Regions from separate parts of the Homo sapiens genome. Here region 2 is linked to region 1. The links are contacts of gene promoters, found by promoter capture Hi-C in human tissues and cell types (Jung and others, 2019). All regions are on one chromosome and are shown on one strand. Each heading gives the region's core, a stretch centred on a gene start or on the middle of the fragment in contact. The rest is flanking DNA. Distances are from core to core; before and after follow the strand shown.

What was found. Contacts are between HindIII fragments. The study calls those that stand out against the background at their distance.
Region 2: a fragment that was not itself captured here is called in contact with the fragment with the promoter of FGF9 in region 1 in 3 of the 25 tissues and cell types used here (H1 embryonic stem cells, lymphoblastoid cells and mesendoderm cells).

The regions. Positions count from the first base shown.
Region 1 is chr13:21,666,914-21,673,358 of GRCh38, reverse strand. It overlaps FGF9 (fibroblast growth factor 9), which reads right to left and starts at 2,286. Exons shown (of 3, transcript NM_002010.3): 1 at 1,170-2,286. The coding sequence starts at 1,446. RefSeq lists silencers at 2,299-2,358, 2,379-2,428, 3,209-3,468. The HindIII fragment of the contact is 7,376 bases long and covers 1-6,445 here.
Region 2 is chr13:22,365,019-22,371,689 of GRCh38, reverse strand. No RefSeq gene overlaps it. Among named protein-coding and RNA genes, the nearest start is that of LINC00540, 160 kb to the right of the region's middle. RefSeq lists an enhancer at 1,360-1,981. The HindIII fragment of the contact is 4,635 bases long and covers 1,270-5,904 here.

The sequences.
Region 1 (6,445 bases), core at 1,037-3,536:
CCTTCTGGCATCATCCGCAGCCGCACGAAGCTAAACATACAGTTTAGATTGTGTTCAACATCTGGCACTAAAGCATGAGGAAGAAAAATCACCAGAGGACTTTGTTTTTTACGACCTAGTTTAAGTGTTGTCAGGTGGGTTCACTCAGAAGTTAACTCCTTCCAACAGTCTAGTTGCCCAAACTGGCGCTTATTTTTTTTTTTTTAAGTAAGGAAAAAACTCAAGAGTCCACCCAATTGGGACTGTGTTAGTTGACTTCGTGCCGTTGGGCTCAGGGTGCCCCGGCAAGCACGTGTGTGCAAGCATAAAGTGGGCAGAGCCACCAGCCCTCGAGTCTGCAGCCCTCAGTGCTGAGTCACAAATACCCTCCGCTGAAAAATGAAATCCTCGGAATGCCCTTTAAAATTCGCTCGCAGCGTTTGCACGCGCGCACACACTCACACCAGAGAGCCACGCAGGAGACCTACACAGGGCTGCACACTATGGAAATTTAAAAGCAGAGGTTATCACTTGATAGCTGGAAGGACAAAAACCCCTGAGCGCCCTGCCTCTTCCCAAGTCATTTTCCCCCAAGCCTCTGCCCCTGCTTTTCACGGAGCCTAAAATATGACTTTAGTCCTCCCAACAGGACAATCCGTCAGCAACCTTCGCCTATGGGGCTTTCAGACCCTCACAGGGGAGAATAAACAATGCACTTAATATACAATTCAAGTAGTATACTTACTAGAGGAAAGGGGGAAAGGAAAAAAACCTTAATTTGGGCACAAGATACCCACTGCCTTCAAGAAACTGCATTAAGTTCTTAGTAGTTAATGATTAAAGCTTTAAACTCGTGCAATCAGTCCATTCAAAAGAAACTTCCTAAACCCGTGTATCTGATGCAAAAGAACTGGAAACTTGTATTATATTTATAAATTATGCCCCCCTTTAAATTAAAAGTAGGGGGCCTTTCAGTGTATACTTGCATCAGTGCCAGCAGCAGATCTGCAATTCCGGAGGCATTTTTTTTTCGGAGCTGGCAAGACAGAGAGAGAGAGAGACAGAGATACAGAGAAAGAGGGGAGGAGGGGAGAACCCTTCCCACGTCCCCCACCCGGCCACCACCTTCTTGGTAGTTATAATTTCAACATGTCATCTCATGGACACTAAAGGGTTAATGGTATACCTACCAAATCGGCTGTGGTCTTTCCTGGTTCCCTGGATAGTACCATTGGGGAAGATTTCTAAGTGAAATCCAGTCCTGCAGTATAGCTGCCTCCGCCTGAGAATCCCCTTTAAATGATCCAAGTCCGTGACTGCGGGTCCCCTGGGGAGCCCCCCTGCTTCGGACTGACCCAGGTGGTCACTTAACAAAACCGGGCTGTCCACCGGCAACACGGGCACATTCCCAAACGGTACCGCATCCTGCACACCGAAATAGTTCCCAACTTCACCTAAGGGAGCCATCAGAGGACTCGGCTTTTGGAGCACAAGAATAAACAATAATGATGGTGTCAACCCAGGAGATATTAGGCGAGGTATATCCAACTCCCCTCCCTTACTGCAGTTGCAGAGAGAGAGAGAAAAAAAAGGTTCTTTTCTTCAATCCATTAAATGCATAAATAAAAGTAATCTGCTGTTTCACTGGCACAGGTTCAAGGTCAAACCACTGATAGTCTAAGAAACCACCACTTTATACTCACACACTGACATATTGATAAACATATCTATGTATCTCTATAGATAGATCCCCAGCTCTTAGCAGGCAGGAAGGTCTTCATCCCATCCGACCGTAATAAGGAAAAAAAATCCGTAGTTTCTCCATTTGGTTTGAGATCAGAATGACCATAGCAACTTAAATGCCTAGGCGTTATTATAGGGATTTTTAAGATGCACGGGCTACGTCAGAATTTACGGATCCTGACTCCAGGAAGGCATGCGCTGTTTTTACTCTCTAACCGACTCTGCAGACATCAGCATGAATCCTTCAAGGGGAAAAAAAAATCTCACGTTGGTGGCGGCGACAAATCTCCCCTCCCGGTCCCCCCTCCAAAAAATGATAATAATAATAAAACAAAAAGAAGAAGAAACTTTAGGCGTCCAAAGCTAGTATCCAGGATTCTCCAGAGGCTCGGCAGATGTCCATTGGCTTAGAACGGGTGGCGAGCGGCGAGCGAGGAGAGCCGCGTCCGGGAGCTCGCGTGCCGCCCAGGCTGCCGCGAACAGGTGTTGCCGCGCCGGCTCGCGGAGCGTTGTAGCCGGGCGGAGCGCTCCTCCTGCGCAGCCCCCGCCGGCGCGCAGAGTGGCGCAGGCAGCGGCATTGGGCTGGGTTTAAGGTAGCGCCGCCGCAGCCCGGGCTCCCCGCGGTCCTAGCGCCCGGCTTACTGCCCGCGCCGCTCTGCGGCAGGCGAGGTGCGGCGCGCCAGAGCGCAGGACTTCCTGGGAGGCAGTCGAGGAGCCCTGGCTTTACAAAGAAAAGCAAATGAAAGATGCACTGCGAGAGGCGGGAGGAAGAAACCCTGAGTCTCCCGAGACTCAAAGTTCTCCTGCAGAATAGAAGCCGGTAACCTACAATCTAGCTGGCTGGCTACATTGATGGAGGGTCAGAGTGAAACTGGGAAACTAGTTTTCACTGGGGCTCTGTAACCTTGCGTTGTATTATAGAATATGACTGAGTTGAGAGAGTCGGAGGGAAGGGGAGTTGATTTAATGGACTCGGATGGCCATGGCAGTTTCTCTTCCATTCTTCGGCCACACACACAGAAGCGCAAACTATGTTTCAGGTAAGATCAACTCCTCTCCCCCGTCACACACACACACACACACACACACGCAGATGCGGCCACCGTTTCTGTTTTGTTTGGAGCGTTCTGCTGGGCATCTTTGGGTTGGGGCTATGTTTAGGTCCCGCCCCGCTGCTCGGGTCCCGGCGGCCGCAAAGCAGTCGGCAGGGGGGCGCCAGAGAACCTTCTCTGTCCCCGACTTCGACTCGGGCGCGCGTCTTCGGGAGTCTGGGTGGAGGGGAGCGCTCCAGTAGGCGTCTTCTCGCCCTCAAACCACGCTGCTTAGGACGAGCGGCGCCATCCCAAGCCGTGCATCGGCTCGGGGAAGCGAAAGGCGAGTTCTGGTGTCTCACTCCACCGTCCGAAGCCCGCCGCGGAGCTGGGAGGGCCGGGCACTGGATGCTTGCGGGGCGCCCCGGGGCTGCAGCCGCTCCTTCCTGCTCTGCCCTGCGGGGCCGCACGTGGAAGCCTGAGCTCCGTTGCGCGGGCTCGGGTTTCTGTTAGCCGCCGGCGGCCTTCGCGCCCAGCGGGAGTCAGGGACAAAGAAACCCGCCTCCGGGGGCCGCCAGGGGCCCTGCCGGGCCGGGCCCGCCAGAGAGACTGGAGGCGGCGCGCTCTGCGCCCGGGACAGCCTGCCTGCGCCCGGATCCCCAGTGGCGGCGGGCGCGGAGCGCGGCGCCCCCCAACACACACACACACACACACACACACACACACACACACACACTCGCCCACAGCCCTCCCGCGGGGCCCCCCTTCCCTCCCCCTGCTCCTCTTTGTTCACATTGTCTTAGAAACGGCCCGACTCTCGGGTCAAGATGGTGAAAGTTGCCGAGACTTGAGCGCAGCTCCACACTGCGGGGCGTGCAACTGAGAAGCAAAGTCGAAAGCAGAGACTGAACCCCTGCGGTGGGGAAGCGAATCAAAACCTGGTTATGGGGGAGAAGTCGGATCCGCCTTAGTAGTCAGCTAAAGGCTGGAGATGCATAACTGGGGCTGGCCCTACTCCGGACGGGAGGGCTTCGCCTGAAGACGAAAGGGAGCGATGAATTTGCAGATTTCGGGGGCGCTGGAGGTGCCAGCGACCTGGAGCGACCTTCCCCTGCCCTCCGGGGAGGAAGGCGTGCTCCGGCCCGGGCGAGGAGGAAGGAGAGAAGAGCGAGTGGTCCTCCCCTCTTCCTTTCCCACCCCCCCTTTGCCGCAGTCCAGGGTCATTGGGTGTCCGGGGCTGGCTCGGTGCGTCTTGCTTACGTGTTTCTGAAGCATGAGAGCCCTGCCCCGTGGTATTTACAGCAGTCACATCCGCGGTGGTACAGAGCGGGCTTTAACGTTAACTGCTCGGCGGCAGATACAAGAAGCTGGGTATTAAGTGTCACTTCTCATAAACCACCCGAGTCGCTCGCATTAATCTCCGAGGCAGCCAGCAGTGATGGGTACAGCAGGGGCGTTCCTCGACCAGTTGGGTACAGTGCGCCGGGATGGTTACTTAGTGGGGAAAAAAGCGATGGAAGAAACAGAGACAGGCCCAGAGAGACAGGGAGACGCTTCATAAGAAGAGAAACGAGCAGCACGTGGACATTGGACATTTCCAGTGAAGACAAGACTGGGACCATTTCCACCAGCTGTCTCCAACCACATTCTTTCGATCTGAATTTAGATTGTCATCCAATGAGCAAAGACCATTTCCGCTTCCGAATCCTGCAGCGTGTGACTGTCGCTTTAAAAAGCGTTGCAGCAGTGGAAGAGAGGGCGAAGTAGCTGATGGAGCACTTTCCCAGGTTGAGCAGCCTCCCCCACTTGCAGTTGGCTTGATCCACCTTTCATCCGCATCCCTAACTCCAGCTGCAAGAAGCTTTTGCTGCTTCCTCGCCACTTCACCATCAGATTTCTCTTGCTTGGTTTTGTTGGTTGATTTGGTCGGGTTGTTTTTCTTATTGTAGTAAGAGAAACAGTGTCCTTCCTTGCATTGGCCACATCACATTTTTCCTGTACTCACCCCACTCGTTAGGGCTGACATCCTCAAGGTTCCTTCACAGCTCTGGCAAAACCATGAACTCCTATGTCCAGGACTATGAGTATGTTTTACAAGTCTTCTTCAGTGAGTACATAGATGTTAGTACACAAAGAAGACTGAGGCCTTGCCTTCTAGAGACACGTGGTGTAATTGGGTTAATAACTCCTGCCTCGAAAGACTGTTGTTAGGAGTAAAAGGAAAAAAAAATGCACACGAAACAAGCAGCACACAATAGACCCTCAAGACATAGTCGCTATCATTACACTATTCCTTATATAGTTCCCCCATGGATTTCTCCCATGGGGGTATTCAGCAAATACTGTTATTGATTTTAATCCCAAAGCTCCCTGAGGCTCTGTCTTCTCAAAACGTTTTAACTCCTCGTACTTTCCTTTCTTCCCCTTTCCTGTGTTTTCTATCATCTTTGTCATCTGTCTTTTCTGTGGTCAGTTTAGTACTTAGGCCCAAATGGGAATAAATGACAAGAGAAGTAAAAGAGGGCTATGAAGAGGAATGAGCACTGGAATGGGAGTCTGCAGATCTGAAACACATCATCTGACCCTCTGCCTACTCCATGTGTGGCTACGGGCCCTCTCCTCACGGGTCCCAGCTCTTTGCTGTGAAGACTGGTTCATGTAGGTTAAAGTGGCCTGTCAGCTATAAAGTCCTCTGCAAATTTGAAGTGGCCCTTTGGAAAAAGTCCACCTTCCCCTCTTTCTTCATTAGCTTGTCTTCCTTCAGTTTCCCTGGACCCCCAGATGCAAATCAGTACAGAGTCATTTCATTCCTTCTCTGCAGTAAAGGTGTCACTGGGCCTCTGCCCTTCCATCTGTTTCCTTCGTTCTCCTCCTCCCCACCCCACAACCCTTCAATCTACTTATGGGCTTTTGTTTAGGAGCTGTAAGGAGCATGGGATGGAGGGGAATGGTTTGGGAAGGTTGAAGTCTATTCCCAGTGTGACCCCAGGAACTAGGTTTGAGTTTCATGGTAAGAGGATAGAACCTTTGTAGCCACCATTTATTGACTGCTTACTGTGTTTCCAACACCCTGCTAAGTGCTTTTGTGCTTTATCTTCTTAATATTGAAAACTGTCCTATGAGGTATTATTTTATCCCATATTATAGATGAGGAAACTGTGGCTTATAGAAATTAAGTAGCCTGCCTATTGCCACAGTGCTAATAAATGGTGGAGCCAAGTTCATAGACATCAGACCCTCATTGTGTAACACTGCCCTCGATTATAACAGGCATATACTTTTAAATTGTTTAATAGGATGTCTTCTCAAAATACACAGAAATAAATGATGGGCATATATACTTGTATATATCAACAACCAGTTACACTGAGTGTATATGAACAACAACCAATTAGAAGACAAAATGAAGGAAGGAAAAGACCCCAGTTACAATAGGTTTTTTAAAAAGGAAAGGAAAGTGAAGGAAGGAAGGAAAGGAGACATAAGATCCCCAGGAGCAGAATTAACAACAAAAAAATGTACAAGATCTACATGAAGAAAAAAAAAATTTTTTTTTTTTTTTTGAGACAATGTCTCACTATGTTGCTTAGGCTGGTCTCGAACTCCTGGGCTCAAGAGATCCTCCCACCTTGGCCTCCCAAAGTGCTTGGATTACAGGCATGAGCCACTGCTCCCAACCAAGAAATACATAT
Region 2 (6,671 bases), core at 2,338-4,837, 700 kb before region 1:
TCTCGACTGTAGACTTTTGAGTTAATGCTGAAATGAGTTAAGAATCTGAGGTACTGTTGGGAAGGCATGATTGGTTTTGAAATGTGAGGATGTGAGAATTGGGAGCAGCCAGTGGCAGAATGATATGGTTTGGCTGTGTCCCCAACCAAGTCTCATTTTGAATTATAGCTCCCATAATTCCCACATGTTGTGGAAAAGACCTGGTGGGACATAATTGAATCATGGGGGCAGTTTGCCCCATACTGTTCTTGTGGTAGTGAATAAGTCTACCACAGATCTGATGGCTTTATAAGAGGAAATCCCTTTAGCTTAGTTCTCATTATCTTTTATCTGCCACCATGTAAGACGTGCTTTCACCTTCTACCATGATTGTGAGGCCTCCCCAGCCACATGGAGCTGTGAGCCCATTAAACCTTTTTTTCTCATAAATTACCCAGTCTTGGGAATGTATTTATCAGCAGCATGAAAATGGACTAATACCGCACTTATCTCACTTGGATTCAAGAGGGAGATCATTTTTCTGATGACTGCTTTTGAGATGAGAATGTTTGTGTGTATGTGAAAGCCAGACCAAAGACATTCCCTGGAGAAATTACGTTTTTTTTACCCTGTTTCTCTTCTTTTTAATTTCTTTTTGAGAACTCCTAAATGGTAGAACTTATGCAAGCATAAGTGAAAATGTGACTATTATTTTCTGTATTATTAATTTTCCTTCCTAATTTTCCTACCAAGTGCCAGCATCTTTTGTTTACAAGGTGCTTTGTGTGGCATCAATTTTGATAGTCATCTTCAACAGCTACATATGCTCATACCCAAAAACCTGCTTCCAAGTCACATATTTAAAGAGAAGTACAAAAATATTTTCTGGAATTAAAACTGTCTTGTATCCAGTGAATCCTGGTCAAAACAAACAAACAAAAAATGCAAAGATCACAAACAGATCGTATCAAAGAATGAAGAGAAGAGACGTTATATACCTGTCTATTTAATATAATAGCTATCTTAGGCTATATATTGTCAGCCACTGGCTATTAAATCATCAAAAAAAGTGCTCTTATTTACAGTACAGGTGTAAAAAAAAAATCTGGATTTAAACCCAAAAGGTGTCAAAAAGCTTTGCCAAGCAAGAAAGTATTCAGCTGGTTAAAATGAGAAGTTCTAGGCTGCTCTGATGAAATGCCCCAGGAAGCTTTGTGTAGAGTGTTTAAAAAGCAAACAGTTTTCCTAATTTTCAGAGCAATGCTATTTGGACTTAAAAGGCACTCTTCCTTGTGGAAAACACACATAAGATATACAAACCTGTTCTGACCACCAATCTGGCAGGACACAACTATGCATTCTGGGAAAGCTTTCATGGATACGTAGGGGGAAAGGGAATTTCCTTCCACCCATTTGAATGTTTAATAAATTGACTCCATAAAATCAACCAACAATAGACAGAGTAACAGGAGAAAAGGTATACAAGTTTATTACATATGCATGTGTAGAGTAACTACACAAAATATGAGACTCAAAGAAGGGCCAGATGACTAAGTTGTATACCATACAGAGTAGAATAAGGACTTAGGGCTCCTGGGGAGCCTGGGGATGGGTTGTGGGAGGGTGGGGGGAGGAAACACATGGAGAGCAAAGGCTGTCTTGTTATGCAGATGAAGTCTCACAGGTAGCAGTCCTCAGAGTGAATAGAAGGCAGCTTGTGGTTAACAGTTTCTCTGTCAGAACTTCAAAATGTCAGACTTAAGTCTCCTTTTTCTGTGAGTTCATCTTTCCTAGATCTGGATAAGGTGACCTCAGAGAAAGCCTCTGTTTGTATCTCCTGTTTGCTTTACTAATGTAGATAAACATACATTTTTTCTTTTAACAAAGCAATAGCTTTTCAAATCTATTCAGCTTCTCTGAATAAACAACTTGAAATATACCAAAAAAGTATATTTTGGAGAGGCATATTTTGGATTCCAACAAATACAATAGCAAGGACGTATTTTCTGACCTAGAACTTGTTTTTGTCCTTCTTAGGTCTACCATTCAGAGTGTTGGGGCTCAGAAAACAATATCCCAAAATGAAGGCCTCTGCAATACCTTCAGAAGCAAAAGGTTTTTCTCTGACCTCTTCCTGCCCTCCTTTCTCTCCATCCCATTCTTCCCCAAGGCTAGCCATAGAAATGAGAAACACTCTTCTCCAAGGCAGGTCATAGAAACCTGAACTCCTTTTCTCCAAAGACAGCTATAAAACTAACAATATTAATCTAACCTTCCCTTAGCCCTATCCATGTAAAAATGGCCAGAAAGAAATTCTCTGACCTACCTTGTTTGATGATAGGTTATAAGACTCCCATTCTGGAAAGGTTCCTGCCCCATACCCAGAGGGAAGGAATGCTGCTCAGAGAAGCCAAGAGGAATCTAGATGGACACGCCTTGCTGGGTTCCCCCACGCAGACTATTAGCATTAGATCACACACTTTTTGTCCAATCATATTTCTACATGGCTGTCCATACTTGGTTGAACCAAAGCAAAAAATAGACCATTTCCCCTGTGTCTTTGGGTCTTCATTCTGAGGGCTCCTGGGTACACATGTTAAATAAATTTGTATGCCTTTTCTTCTATTAATCTGCCTTTTGTGAATTTATTTTTCAGCAAACCTTCAGAGGGCCAGGAGGAAAGCTCTCCTGTAGCCCTTGCAAAGGGAAAAATGGTGATAAGGAGTAAATTTTACTGAATACTCCTGTTTTATTTTGTTTGGCACCTATCAGATGATTTGCAGGGGGCAAGTAGAGTTTTCATGATAATAGTATGATTTCTCTCCAGAGTTCTTGAAAGTCACTCTTTCCAGCCTAATATGCTGCCTTCACCATCTCAAAATGAATAAAAGAAATGAAACAAAACAAATCAAAACAAAACAAAACGCAAACATCATGCACAAAGCTCTGAGCTCCAGCTCCTTTAAAGACCCTACAGGTTTGTACACACAGCAGCAGACCTTTGGAAATCACTTCACGGACTTACTCCAATTAGCTTAAACATGTGAATCAGGACCGTCTTTTTCTCTTTCCTTGAATGTTGCCTTCACTAATAATATCTACATTATCAGTCAAAGGGAGTTATTCATTACATATTTTTTAGACATGTCTTTCATCTCTCATCACTATTCACGGTCTCTTTTTGACATGCTGATTCTACGCCCTTTTTTCTGGTTCTTTGGTCTTTCTAAAAACATTTTTTTCTCCATTATTTCTTATAAAGAGATCTGGATTTCACCTGATGTTAGAACAGCTTCTGCTACTCAAACATTTGAATGAACCTAACTCTAACATGAAAAGCTGTATTGAGAATAAGATGGGATTCATGAAGAAATCTATGGAGATAGGGGAGGCAGCATATTTTTATATTTTCATCTACTTTATAGATGTTTTCTTGACATTTTTGTGAATAAAAATGAGAAGGATGAAATATAATACCTTCAAGATAAAACTGCACTGAGGTTAACAAGAGCTCATTCTTCTTTTGGCTTTGGCTATAATATTTGAAGTAAGCTGGAATTTTAACAGTGGTTTATCTCATACTGTTTCTATTGTGAGACCTCACCAGTGATTTTTCATTTACTAACTAGAAGAAGAATGTGGTCTTTTAAGTATTTATCAGACAGTAACTAGATAAGAAGTTGATATTATTTTCTCAATAGGATTCATTCTACATTAGTTATTTTCTGCTTTAAATAATGCATTACATGAAAAGATAATTTGTTTTATTTAGACACTTGCAATTTTGATTACACACACACACACACACACACACAGACAATATAATATGCAATGACATAGTTACTTGACGTTTCTGAGAAACTAAGGTACAAATATATAAAATTCCAGACCAGTTCACAAACTTGCCAAAGTACAAGTCTTATAAATCCAAGAGGAAGATTTTTTGAGAGGATTTATTAGAAAAAAGGTATTTTCCTCCTGCAACTTAAATCGAGAGAAAACAGCTTCAGCTGGACCTTGCAGGAAGATTTTCTGTGATCCTTACAGCTATGAGACAGGGTGATCCCCACCTGGCCCTGAATGGAAACTCCAGATACAAAGAACTAGGCGAACCCAGGTGTAGGCAACAGAGCAGAGCCTGGACTCGGCTGCCCTTGGTTAGGCTGGGACAAAGAACACATTTCCTTGTGGACTGTCTTAAGTCCCTTCCAAAACACATCTGGAAAAGAGATGTAATCTCAACAGAAGCTGGAGGTGGACTTCAAGATTCCCAGGATCTTCACGTAAATGAGTCCAGCCAGAAGAACCACTCACTGAAATCAGGAGATTGCATACCAGAGATCAGAGGTCCTCAAAGAACACATGAGGGAGTCCATGACCTCCTTCAAACTCTGCTGGCTCTGAGGGCACAAAACCAGACACAACAGTTCTAGATAAAGCCAAGACAAGGCAGAGATGCTCCCTATGGACTTCTGCCCCCCATCCCCTGGAAGAGCTGCAAACAGCAGCCAGGCAGGAGAGAAGGAAATGAGAAAGAAAGACGGGCAAAACCAATACTCCTGCCTCAAGGCAGTTTCCCCTAAAGAATGAGAGAGAGTAATCTTACCCTTAAATGGAGTTGTAAGCTTAATTATTATATAAAATACATAATAATATATGCCCTACATATATATAGATCTTACATGTGATGTACGATTATATAAGACAACGAAGTAGATATTGCGACAATGTGACAATATTATTAACGATATTACCTTAGGAAGGAAAAGAAAAGTCACAGACTAGCGATTGAAGGAGAAGTTCTCTTACCTGATTTTTTTTTATCTAACATATTACATAAATGTAATATTTATGGGATACGGTGTAATATTTCAATACAATATGAAATGATGAAATCAGGGTAATTACCACATCCATCACCTCAAACATTTATCATTTCTTTGTGTTAAAAACCATTCGAAATCTTCTCTTCCAGCTATTTGAACATATACAATAAATTATTGTAACTGTAGTTACCCTACAGTGCTACACAACCAATCTATTTCCATCTTTTCCTCCCCCTACCCTCTCCCACCTCTGGTATCTAGTATTCTACTTTCTACTTCTGTGATCAAATTTTATTAGGTTCCACATATGACTGAGAACATGTGGTATTTATCTTTCTGTGTCTGATTTATTTCACTTAACATAACATCCTGTAGGCTTACTCATGTTGCCACAAATGACAGGATTTCATTTTTTAATAGCTGAAAAGTATTCCATTGTGTATATATACCACATTTTCTTTATTCATCCATTGACAGAATAGGCTGATTACATATCTTAGTTATTGTGAATAGTGCTGCAATAAACATAGGACTACAAATATTTCTTTGACATACTGATTTCCTTTTCTGTGGATTTGTATCCAGTAGTGGGATTGCTGAATCATATGATAGTTCTACTTTTGATTTTTTGAGGAAACACCATACTGTTTTCCACAACGGTTGTACTAATTTATGTCTCCACCAACACTGTATAAGAGTTCCTTTTTCTTTGCATCATTGCCAGCATTTGTTATTTTTTATCATTTTGATAATAGCCCTTCTTACTAGGGTGACATGATATCTCACTGTGGTTTTGATTTGCATTTTCTTGGTGGTCAGTGATGTTCAGCATTTTTTAATATATTTGTCGGCCATTGTGTCTTCTTTTGAAAACTGTCTATTCAGAGCATCTGCACATCTTTTGACTAGATTATTTCTTTTTTTTTCACTTTTGTTGAGTTGCTTGAGGTCCTTGTGTATTCTCAGTATTAATCGCTTGTCAGATAAATAGTTTGAAAATATTTTCTCCCTTTTGTGAGGTGTCTCTTTACTCTGTTGATTTTTTTTCTTTCTTTTGCATTGCTATACAGAAGCTTTTTAGTTTGGTGTAATCCCATTTGTGTATTTTTGCTTTGGTTGCCTAAGCTTCTGAGGTCTTATTCATAAAATCTTTGCCCAGAATAATGTCCTGAAGTGTTTCTCATATGTATTCTTCTAGTTGTTTAATAGTTTTAGACTTACATTTAAGTCTTTAACCCATTTTGAGTTGATTTTTGTACATGGCTAGAGATATGAATTTAGTTTCATTCTTCTGCATAGGAATATCAATTTTCCTAGTGCTACTTATTGAAGAGGTTTGTCTTCTTCCCAGTTTATGTTCTGGGCATCTTTATCAAAAATCAGTTAGCTGTAAATACAGTAAGTCCTCACAATGTTGTCAATGGGGTCTCAAAAACTGTGACTTTAAGTGAAACAACATACTGCAGGTCCTTGGATAATGTTGTTTGATTCAATGTCATTTTGTTATAACATTGATGAGAAAAAAATGATTTTCTTACACATCATTTTTCTTACAGTCACAGTTTCCAAGAATGAATTATCAATGTTAAGTGAGGACTTATTGTACACAGATTTATTTATGGGTTCTCTATTCTGTTCCATTGGTTTATCTGTCAGTCTTTATGAAAGTATCATACTGTTTTAGTTACTATAGCTTTGTAGTATAATTTAAAGTTAAGTAATGTGATTCCTCCAGTTTTTTTTTTTTGGAGGTGGGTTGTTTTTGGCTATTTGGGGCCTTCTGTGGTTCCGCACAAATTTTAGGATTTTTTTCTATACCTGTAAAGAATGTCATTGGTATTTTGGCAGGATTGTATTGAATCTACA